Regions from separate parts of the Homo sapiens genome. Here regions 1 and 2 are each linked to region 3. Evidence: promoter capture Hi-C in 16 types of primary human blood cells and fetal thymus (Javierre and others, 2016). All regions are on one chromosome and are shown on one strand. Each heading gives the region's core, a stretch centred on a gene start or on the middle of the fragment in contact. The rest is flanking DNA. Distances are from core to core; before and after follow the strand shown. Region 1 overlaps BAALC (BAALC binder of MAP3K1 and KLF4). Region 2 overlaps BAALC (BAALC binder of MAP3K1 and KLF4). Region 3 holds the start of CTHRC1 (collagen triple helix repeat containing 1).

Region 1 (2,700 bases), core at 187-2,686, 190 kb before region 3:
AGAAGTTAGGCTGCTTGCTCAAGATCACTGTGTGTTCCTAGCATGTAGAGTGATGGTTTTCATTAATATAATCTCTGGTGGGGAAATTAGGAACCATCTGGTCTTGTCATTGGAGCTCAGCTATCAAGTTGCTACTTAATAGGTAGTTTCATTAAAAAGCAGAGGACTATATCAAAGTATATTTCTCAAAATGTTAAAAACTTAATTATCATACAAATAAATAGTGAGCAGGTATCACTATCTTTTTAACTCATTGATGAGGGTCACAGCTGGATGATAAAGTCAGCTCAAAAGAGAATATGAGAATGTGATTAACAGAAGGGCGACATGAAGAATCCTTGTGGTGATGGAGCTGTTCTGTATCTTGGTTGCAGTGGTGGATAAGTAAAAGTGCACATGTAATAAAATCATATAGGATTAAGTACAAATATACAAATGAGTACAAATTAAACCTGGGGAAATCTAAATAGGACGGGTGGATTGTACCAATGTCAGTACCCTGGATAGGATCTTGTACTACAATTCTGTAAGATGTTACCATTGGGGGAAATTAGAAAAGAGCACACAGATCACTCTGTACGATTTCTTACAACAATCTATAGATGATTTTGAAATAAAAAGTTTAATTTAGGCTGGGCACAGTGACTCACGCCTGTAATCCCAGCACTTTGGGAGGCTGAGGTGGGCGGATCACAAGGTCAGAAGTTCAAGACCAGCCTGGCCAACATGGTGAAACCCTGTCTCTACTAAAAATACAAAAATTAGCTGGGTATGGTGGCGTGTGCCTGTAATCCCAGCTACTCAGGAGGCTGAGGCAAGAGAATTGCTTGAACTGGGACCCAGGAGGCAGAGGTTGCAGTGAGCCAAGATTGCACCACTGCACTCCAGCCTGGGATACAGAGTGAGACTCTGTCTCAAAAAAAAAAAAAAAGTTAATTTAAAAACAAAATAAATAAATGGCTCAGAACAAAAGGGAATATGAGAAACTTTTAAAAATAGTTGGTGGAAAGAAGGAAAGCTGAGATAAGATTGCTAAATTAAATACAAAACTAGTTACATCCTAAAGGACAAAACAAAAACAAAAAAATTCCACAAAACCCAAACCCATAGTCTTTGGGGTTCTCTTCTCTATCAGACAGAAAAGAAACTCATCATGCATGATCAGTTCTCAGAATTGTAAACTGTTTGGCCCTAATCAAATGTGCAAACCAAGTTGCACGCTCTAGGCCAGGATCTCTCAATGCCTCCAGCACTATGGAAATTTTGGGCCCAAATAATTCTTTGTTGGGGGTGCTGTCGTGGGCACTGTAGGATGTTTAGTAGCATGTGTGGCCTCTACAGCTGAAACATCTCCACATGTCCACTGGGGGTAAAGTCATGCTGGGTAGGAGCCCCAGAACACCTTTAGGTGAGCTTGTTGGGAAGTGCTCCTAGCATAACGTTAATCATCTTTTCTGCATTATCCCAATCTCTGGATAATTGTTCTTCACAAATAAAACTACCATTTGGAGGGTCACTGTGCTGAATAGAAGCACAATGTGCTCTATGCGGAGTCACAGACTTTTAGCAGAACAGGATCCTTAGAGATTTTCTAGGCCTGCTTCACCCTCCTTGTTTCCCAGCTGAGGAATACCAGTGGAGATGGCTCGGCTAAAGTCACATAGCTAGTTCATGTGGGTGTGTCCAATTCAATCCTGTCTTCTTCCAAATGGATGTGAAGCAGTCACTATGAAGTCTTTAAAACTTTGTGGGTACCAATTATGTGCCAGGCCCTGCGCTGGGCTCACAGCCAGGTGATGGCTAACACGAGGTCCTGCTCTTGAGGCACTGATGGTCTTCCTGGGGAGATAAGGATGTAGGCAAATAATTACTGTGGGAGGGATATTCAGTAGTGCAGGCTGAGGATGAAGGCTGTGATGGCCTTAGAGTCTCAGGGATAAGCCCTAAGGGAGTCTGATGAGGACCAGAGTTCCCAGCTCCATGATCAAAGAGAGGTGGTTGTACTCATTGCAGAGGGAAGTTGTTGTTCCTGGCGCAGAGGGAATGTGAGGCCCAAAAGTGAATCTGCCCACAGTGCAGGCCTGGGCCAGGTTCTGGGATTACTGGGAGGCCCAGAAGACAATGATAAGCAGGGGGAGTGCAGAAATGGGGAGCTGTGAAGAACAAGTGGAAGAAAGGAGCAGATTTATAGCCAAGAGATCAGGCCAAAGATAGGACAGGGTGGGCGAGTGGGAGGAATGCAATTCTGAGATGGAGAAATTAAGACAACTAGAGTTCCAGGAAGAAGAGAACAACTGGGTAAAATCACAGCAGTGTTGAGAGCATGGTGGTGCCCGTGGTTTACTGTTAGTGGTCACTATGGTTTCCAGAAATCTAACTGCATGAATGGCACCCAGGAACTGAATCTGGGACTTCCTGGCTGGCTGCACCCTGCAAGGCTCACGTGCTTGGCCTCAGAGAGGAAAGGGACTGGAACTAGGACTCAGAACAAAAATTTGGCAGAGCATGAATCCAGGTCTGGCTGGCACAGGAGCTGCTTCCAAGATATTTTACATCCAAAGCACCAACCTCACATGTTGTGGCAGTTACAGGAAGGAGGCTTCCAACTTTAGCATCCTTCAAGCCCTTGCCTCGTTCCTCGTGACTCACCAGGGAGAGAGAAACTGGAAAACAGGGACCAGAAGGATGTAGGGAGAGGAT
Region 2 (2,700 bases), core at 201-2,700, 150 kb before region 3:
CATCTTCTTTCTCTCTCTTGCTTGGGCTTGAAATCTAAGGTTTTTGAGATGTAACTAGATTGTGTTGATGAAAAGAGTCAAACTCTACAATATTTGAAGAGATTTATTCTGAACCAAATATGAGTGACCATGGCCCATGACACAGCCCTCAGGAGATCCTGAGAGTATGTGCCCAAGGTGGTTGGGGCACAGCTTGGTTTTATATATTTTAGGGAGGCATGAGACATCAGTCAAATACATTTAAGAAACACATTGGTTTGGTTTAAAAAGGCAGGACAACTCAAAGCAAAGTGGGCAGGTGGCGGGTGGGGGGCTTCCAGGCTATAGGTAAATTTAAACATTTTCTGGTTGAGTTTGTCTAAAGACCTGGGATCTGCAGAAAGGAATGTTCAGGTTAAGAAAAAGGATTGTGGAGACCAAGTTTTATTGTGTAGAGGAAGCTCTTAGATGGCAGACTATAGAGAGAGCAGGTTGTAAATTTTTTACAGACTTATAGGGGTGGCTGGCTCTTAGTTGATTATCTCCTGGATCTGGGAAGGAAGGAAGGAAAACAGAGGAAAAAGGATTCTCTATAGAATGTGGATTTTTCCCACAAGAGACTCTGTGGGGCAATTTCAAGATATGTCAAGAAAATATATTTTGGGGTAAAACATTTTGATTTTCTTCCTTGTTATGCCAGAGTCAGACTGGAAAGTAAAACACAATATACAGGGTCAAACAAAACCTATCTGATGAGAATTTATGGTTTGTAGGTTATGACTCCCCAGGCCCCTTAGATAGGAATTTGGGCAAGATAAAAAAATCAGAGTTTAGTCCTCAATTGCAACGACTACCAACCTCTTAAACATCCTCACGACTGCTTTTGGTTGGGTACTTTTCCGGCAATGTCTCAAATTCAAAAGCTTCTCTTTCATAAAACATTTCTGAGAAAATGCATTGTTGTTCTAATTATTTAATTTGCTAACTTAAATACAGTGTCATTATTTGAAAGTGGATTTGTTTACGGCTTGGAACTTTTTGAGCCCATATCATGGGAGTTACAGAACTTTAGTTTGTCCTTTATCTGGAAGCACAACTTTTAGAGTTATTGTTGTTGCCATTTAGAAGTAGTAGTAGCAGTAGTCATCGTTTCAGTATAATGAGGCTTTATATTTTAATTTGCTGTTTGACTGACATCATCTTTTTACAAATAAAATTAATGTTAATAGCTATAATTGAGGTGACTAACCGTCCTGGTTTGCTGGGGCCTGAGTAGGTTTCTGGGATGTGGGACTTTTAGTTTTAAAACTTTTTGGCGGGCCGGGCGTGGTGGCTGGCTCACGCCTGTAATTCCAGCACTTTGGGAGGCTGATGCGGGTGGACCACAAGGTCAGGAGTTCGAGACCAGCCTGGCCAACATGATGAAATCCCGTCTCTACTAAAAATACAAAAATTAGCTAGGTGTGGTGCACGCCTGTAGTCCCAGCTACTCGGGAGGCTGAGGCAGGAGAATCTCTTGAACCTGGGAGGCAGAGGTTGCAGTGAGCAAAGATTGAGCCACTGCACTCCAGCCTTGTGACAGAGAGAGACTGTCTCAAAACAAAACAAAACAAACAAACAAAACTTATCGGCCCTGGATAAACCAGGATAAACTAGGAGAAGTTGGTAACCCTCTCAATGTTATGTGACATACTTAATTCTCTCAAAGAAAAGTAAAGAGCAGGCATTATTTCCTTCATTTTTCAGATAATAGAACTGAGTCAAATGTCAAAGCAACATGTCTTGCTGCAGCTAACTGGTAGCAAAGGCTTGCTCCATGTCCAGATCTATCTGGCCCCAAAGTTTGTGCTCTGAATATTTCTATTGTGCAGGCTTATGATATACAGATTTAAGAAATGACCCTATTGTAATTGGGATTACAATTATATATATATATCTGTGGCTGTTATAGGAATGACTACTTTGTAGCCTCTTAAATAGGCTTGGAAATCCAACTACTGGATTTTTTGCTTAGATTTTTAAGCTTAGAAGTACAGACTGAAATAAAGAGCTTTGTATCATCTGTGTATCATCTTTAATAAACTTTTGTGAAATCTTACCAACAGTCTTTTCTAAAGAAAAGCACTTCTGCAGTTTGGAACATTTCCATTTCCATTCTGGAAAGCCCTCTTACCTCCCACCAATTTGAGGGGAATGCTACAGTCAATTTAGCTCACTTTAAAGAAGGCCTCTGCATTCTATTCCATGCCCCAGTCCTCAAAGCTATTTAGTGACACCCGGAATGGAAGTCAGATGGAATTGGTCTCATAATTACCACGGTTTTCTTTAGGAAACAGAATCACTGCCTTCTTTTCCTTCACAACGCTTTGTGCGTGTGTGCATATGTGCATGTGCTTCTGCGTGCGTCTGTGTGTGTGTGTGTGTGTGTGTTTAGCAGGCATGGGGCAGTCCAATGTGAACTCAGAAAATGAAGTAACTACTGTTGATGAAAAGAGTCAAACTCTGTAAAATATTTGAAGAGATTTATTCTGAGCCAAATATGAGTGACCATGGCCCGTGACACACCCTCAGGAGGTCCCGAGAACATGTGCCCAAGGTGAGCGGGGCACAGCGCTTGGTTTTATATATTTTAGGGAGGCATGAGACATCAATCAAATACATTTAAGAAATACATTGGTTTGGCTCAGAAAGGCAGGACAACTCAAAGCAGAGTGGGCGGGT
Region 3 (2,700 bases), core at 193-2,692:
GATCTCCTGCTCCAACCTGGCCCTACGTGGTGGGTAGCCTGGGCCCTGAGAATGTTTTCTTCTACAATGGACAGGCCAAAGGAGGACAGAGGGGGTTACAAAAAGATAATATCCATCAGAGGCAAAGAGTACTCAAAAGTGAACTTCTACCATTTCCACTGGATATTGATTAACTTCCCTGAGCCTCAGTTTCCTCATTCGTTTATGAGAGTAGCCCAGGAGGCATCTACCCCTCCCAACCCGCCAGGATTGCTGAGAGGACAGAGTACGCGTGCAAGGTTTTGCAATGTGCCAGAGCTTAGTAAGTGTTAGCACTTATGAAAACAGCGTTTATATATCATTTGGGTCATGGGACTCTTGGAAAACCTGATGATACCTATGGTTTCTTCCTGCCTCCGCCCCACCCCCACCTTCCAGCCTCCAAAAATGTCACCTCCAAAAAACAAATAAGGCAGGGCGCGGTGGCTCACGCCTGTAATCCCAGCACTTTGGGAGGCCGAGGCGGGCGGATCACAAGGTCAGGAGATCTAGACTATCCTGGCTAACACGGTGAAACCCCGTCTCTACTAAAAATATAAAAAATTAGCCGGGGCCGGGCGCGGTGGCTCACGCCTGTAATCCCAGCACTTTGGGAGGCCGAGGCGGGTGGATCACGAGGTCAGGAGATCGAGACCATCCTGGCTAACACGGTGAAACCCCGTCTCTACTAAAAATACAAAAAATTAGCCGGGCGTGATGGCGGGCGCCTGTAGTCCCAGCTACTCGGGAGGCTGAGGCAGGAGAATGGCGTGAACCCGGGAAGCGGAGCTTGCAGTGAGCCGAGATCGCGCCACTGCACTCCAGCCTGGGCGACAGAGCGAGACTCCGTCTCAAAAAAAAAAAAAAAAAAAAAAAAAAAAAAATTAGCCGGGCGTGGTGGCGGGTGCCTGCAGTCCCAGCTGCTCTGGAGGCTGAGGCAGGAGAATGGCGTGAACCCGGGAGGCGGAGCTTGCAGTGAGCCTAGATGGCGCCACTGCACTCCAGCCTGGGCGACAGAGCGAGACTCTGTCTCAAAAACAAACAAACAAACAAAAAACAAATAAGACTCGCCGACCCATGCCATAGATTGACGACCCTTGAAGGTGGCTCGTGTACCCAGGTTAAGCCACGTGTCTCTAAAATGTTCATTTAGGCGGCGCTGTGTTACCTGCGGGAATCCCCGACCTGCGGCTCCTGACCACGGGCCACCCCGCCCAGACCCTGCAGGCGGGCTCTCCACGAGGGTCTGCGCAGCCCCGCGGGGGTCCTGACAGGCCGAGCGACTGCAGTAGGAGGGGGCGGGCCCGGCTCTCGGTCCGCCCCCACGCCGGGCTCGGGGTGGGGGCTCGGGGCCTATTACGGGATGGAAGCTCCGGGTGTCGCGGGGGCGGGAGGAATTAAGGGAGGGAGAGAGGCGCGCGGGTGAAAGGCGCATTGATGCAGCCTGCGGCGGCCTCGGAGCGCGGCGGAGCCAGACGCTGACCACGTTCCTCTCCTCGGTCTCCTCCGCCTCCAGCTCCGCGCTGCCCGGCAGCCGGGAGCCATGCGACCCCAGGGCCCCGCCGCCTCCCCGCAGCGGCTCCGCGGCCTCCTGCTGCTCCTGCTGCTGCAGCTGCCCGCGCCGTCGAGCGCCTCTGAGATCCCCAAGGGGAAGCAAAAGGCGCAGCTCCGGCAGAGGGAGGTGGTGGACCTGGTGAGTCCGAGGGAGCCGAGCCGGGACCGCCGCGCTGGTGGAGGGGACCTGGCCGCGCGCCCCACGGGCAGGGCGTCAGTCTGGCTGTTGGGGGTGTCTGTCTGTACAGCTGTGTGTCGTGTGTCTTGCTGCGCCGGGGTGTCATGCTTTTTATTTACAGGTGAAGAAGGACCTGGTTATGCGTGCAGTGAGTCTTGGAACTCAGAGGGGAGACCAAAATGGGAGGCCATCGTGGAGCGGACATGCGATATGGGCCCGGTGGGTCTCCCCGAAGTACAGGGAGTCCCCCAATAATTTCTGGCCCCAGGGGGACCCCTTGGGAAGGGTGGGAGGGATAGGGCGGCAGTGAGAGTAGGATGAGGAGCTTGGGTACGTCCGAAGTGGACCTGGGAAAAACCCTGGCCTCGCTGATCACATGGACCTGGGCCTGGGCCAGGGCGGTGCAACGTGTCCTTTGTTGGGGCTGGTGGCCACGTCTGCCTGCGAGAGAGAATAACAACCCCCACAAAGCATCCGTCCAACTCTTTGTAACTTGAAGACTATGAGTCACGTTGGGTCATCTTCCTAGGGAGTATGGGCTGCAATTTACTTTGTTGGACAACCACAGCTGGGGCTAGGAATGGTTCAGAAGGTTTAAGGCCGGAAAGGGAAATGAAGGGGCCCGGCGCTAACCCTCTAAGGACCTGTTTTGCTTCTGTTTAAACCAAATGGGCAGTCTGTCATTACACACACCCTGGGTCTTCATATGTGGCCGCCAGGTAGGAGCATCACAGTCAAGCTACGGGAGAAAACAGTTTCCAGGAAACTGGAAATGAACGGCCCGAGTGCTTTCCAGGGGCTCATCTGTGGGAAGGTATGTTTGCTTAAAATCCTTCCCTCTAAAAATCAACAAACCCAGTGGAGGGCGGAGAGGTTCTCTGGCCTGTGGTATGAGGGAGCCTTTCAGAGCTACCGTAGTCCTTGGCATATTATAAACTTCAGTCTCACTT

The links. The method cuts DNA at HindIII sites, captures the fragments that hold promoters and counts their contacts. A CHiCAGO score of 5 or more calls a contact.
Region 1: a contact is called between a fragment that was not itself captured here and the fragment with the promoter of CTHRC1 in region 3, in 1 of 17 cell types (megakaryocytes). The highest score is 5.0, in megakaryocytes.
Region 2: a contact is called between a fragment that was not itself captured here and the fragment with the promoter of CTHRC1 in region 3, in 1 of 17 cell types (M1 macrophages). The highest score is 5.1, in M1 macrophages.

Annotation. Positions count from the first base shown.
Region 1 is chr8:103,177,947-103,180,646 of GRCh38, forward strand. All of the region lies in intron 1 of BAALC (BAALC binder of MAP3K1 and KLF4), which reads left to right. Among named protein-coding and RNA genes, the nearest start is that of BAALC-AS1, 7.2 kb to the left of the region's middle. The HindIII fragment of the contact is 6,749 bases long and covers 1-2,700 here.
Region 2 is chr8:103,221,730-103,224,429 of GRCh38, forward strand. The region is part of intron 2 of BAALC (BAALC binder of MAP3K1 and KLF4); the gene reads left to right. Among named protein-coding and RNA genes, the nearest start is that of BAALC-AS1, 51 kb to the left of the region's middle. The HindIII fragment of the contact is 1,100 bases long and covers 901-2,000 here.
Region 3 is chr8:103,370,096-103,372,795 of GRCh38, forward strand. CTHRC1 (collagen triple helix repeat containing 1) reads left to right here and starts at 1,443. Exons shown (of 4, transcript NM_138455.4): 1 at 1,443-1,711. The coding sequence starts at 1,562. RefSeq lists enhancers at 1,103-1,897, 1,898-2,691 and a silencer at 1,327-1,446. The HindIII fragment of the contact is 4,990 bases long and covers 1-2,700 here.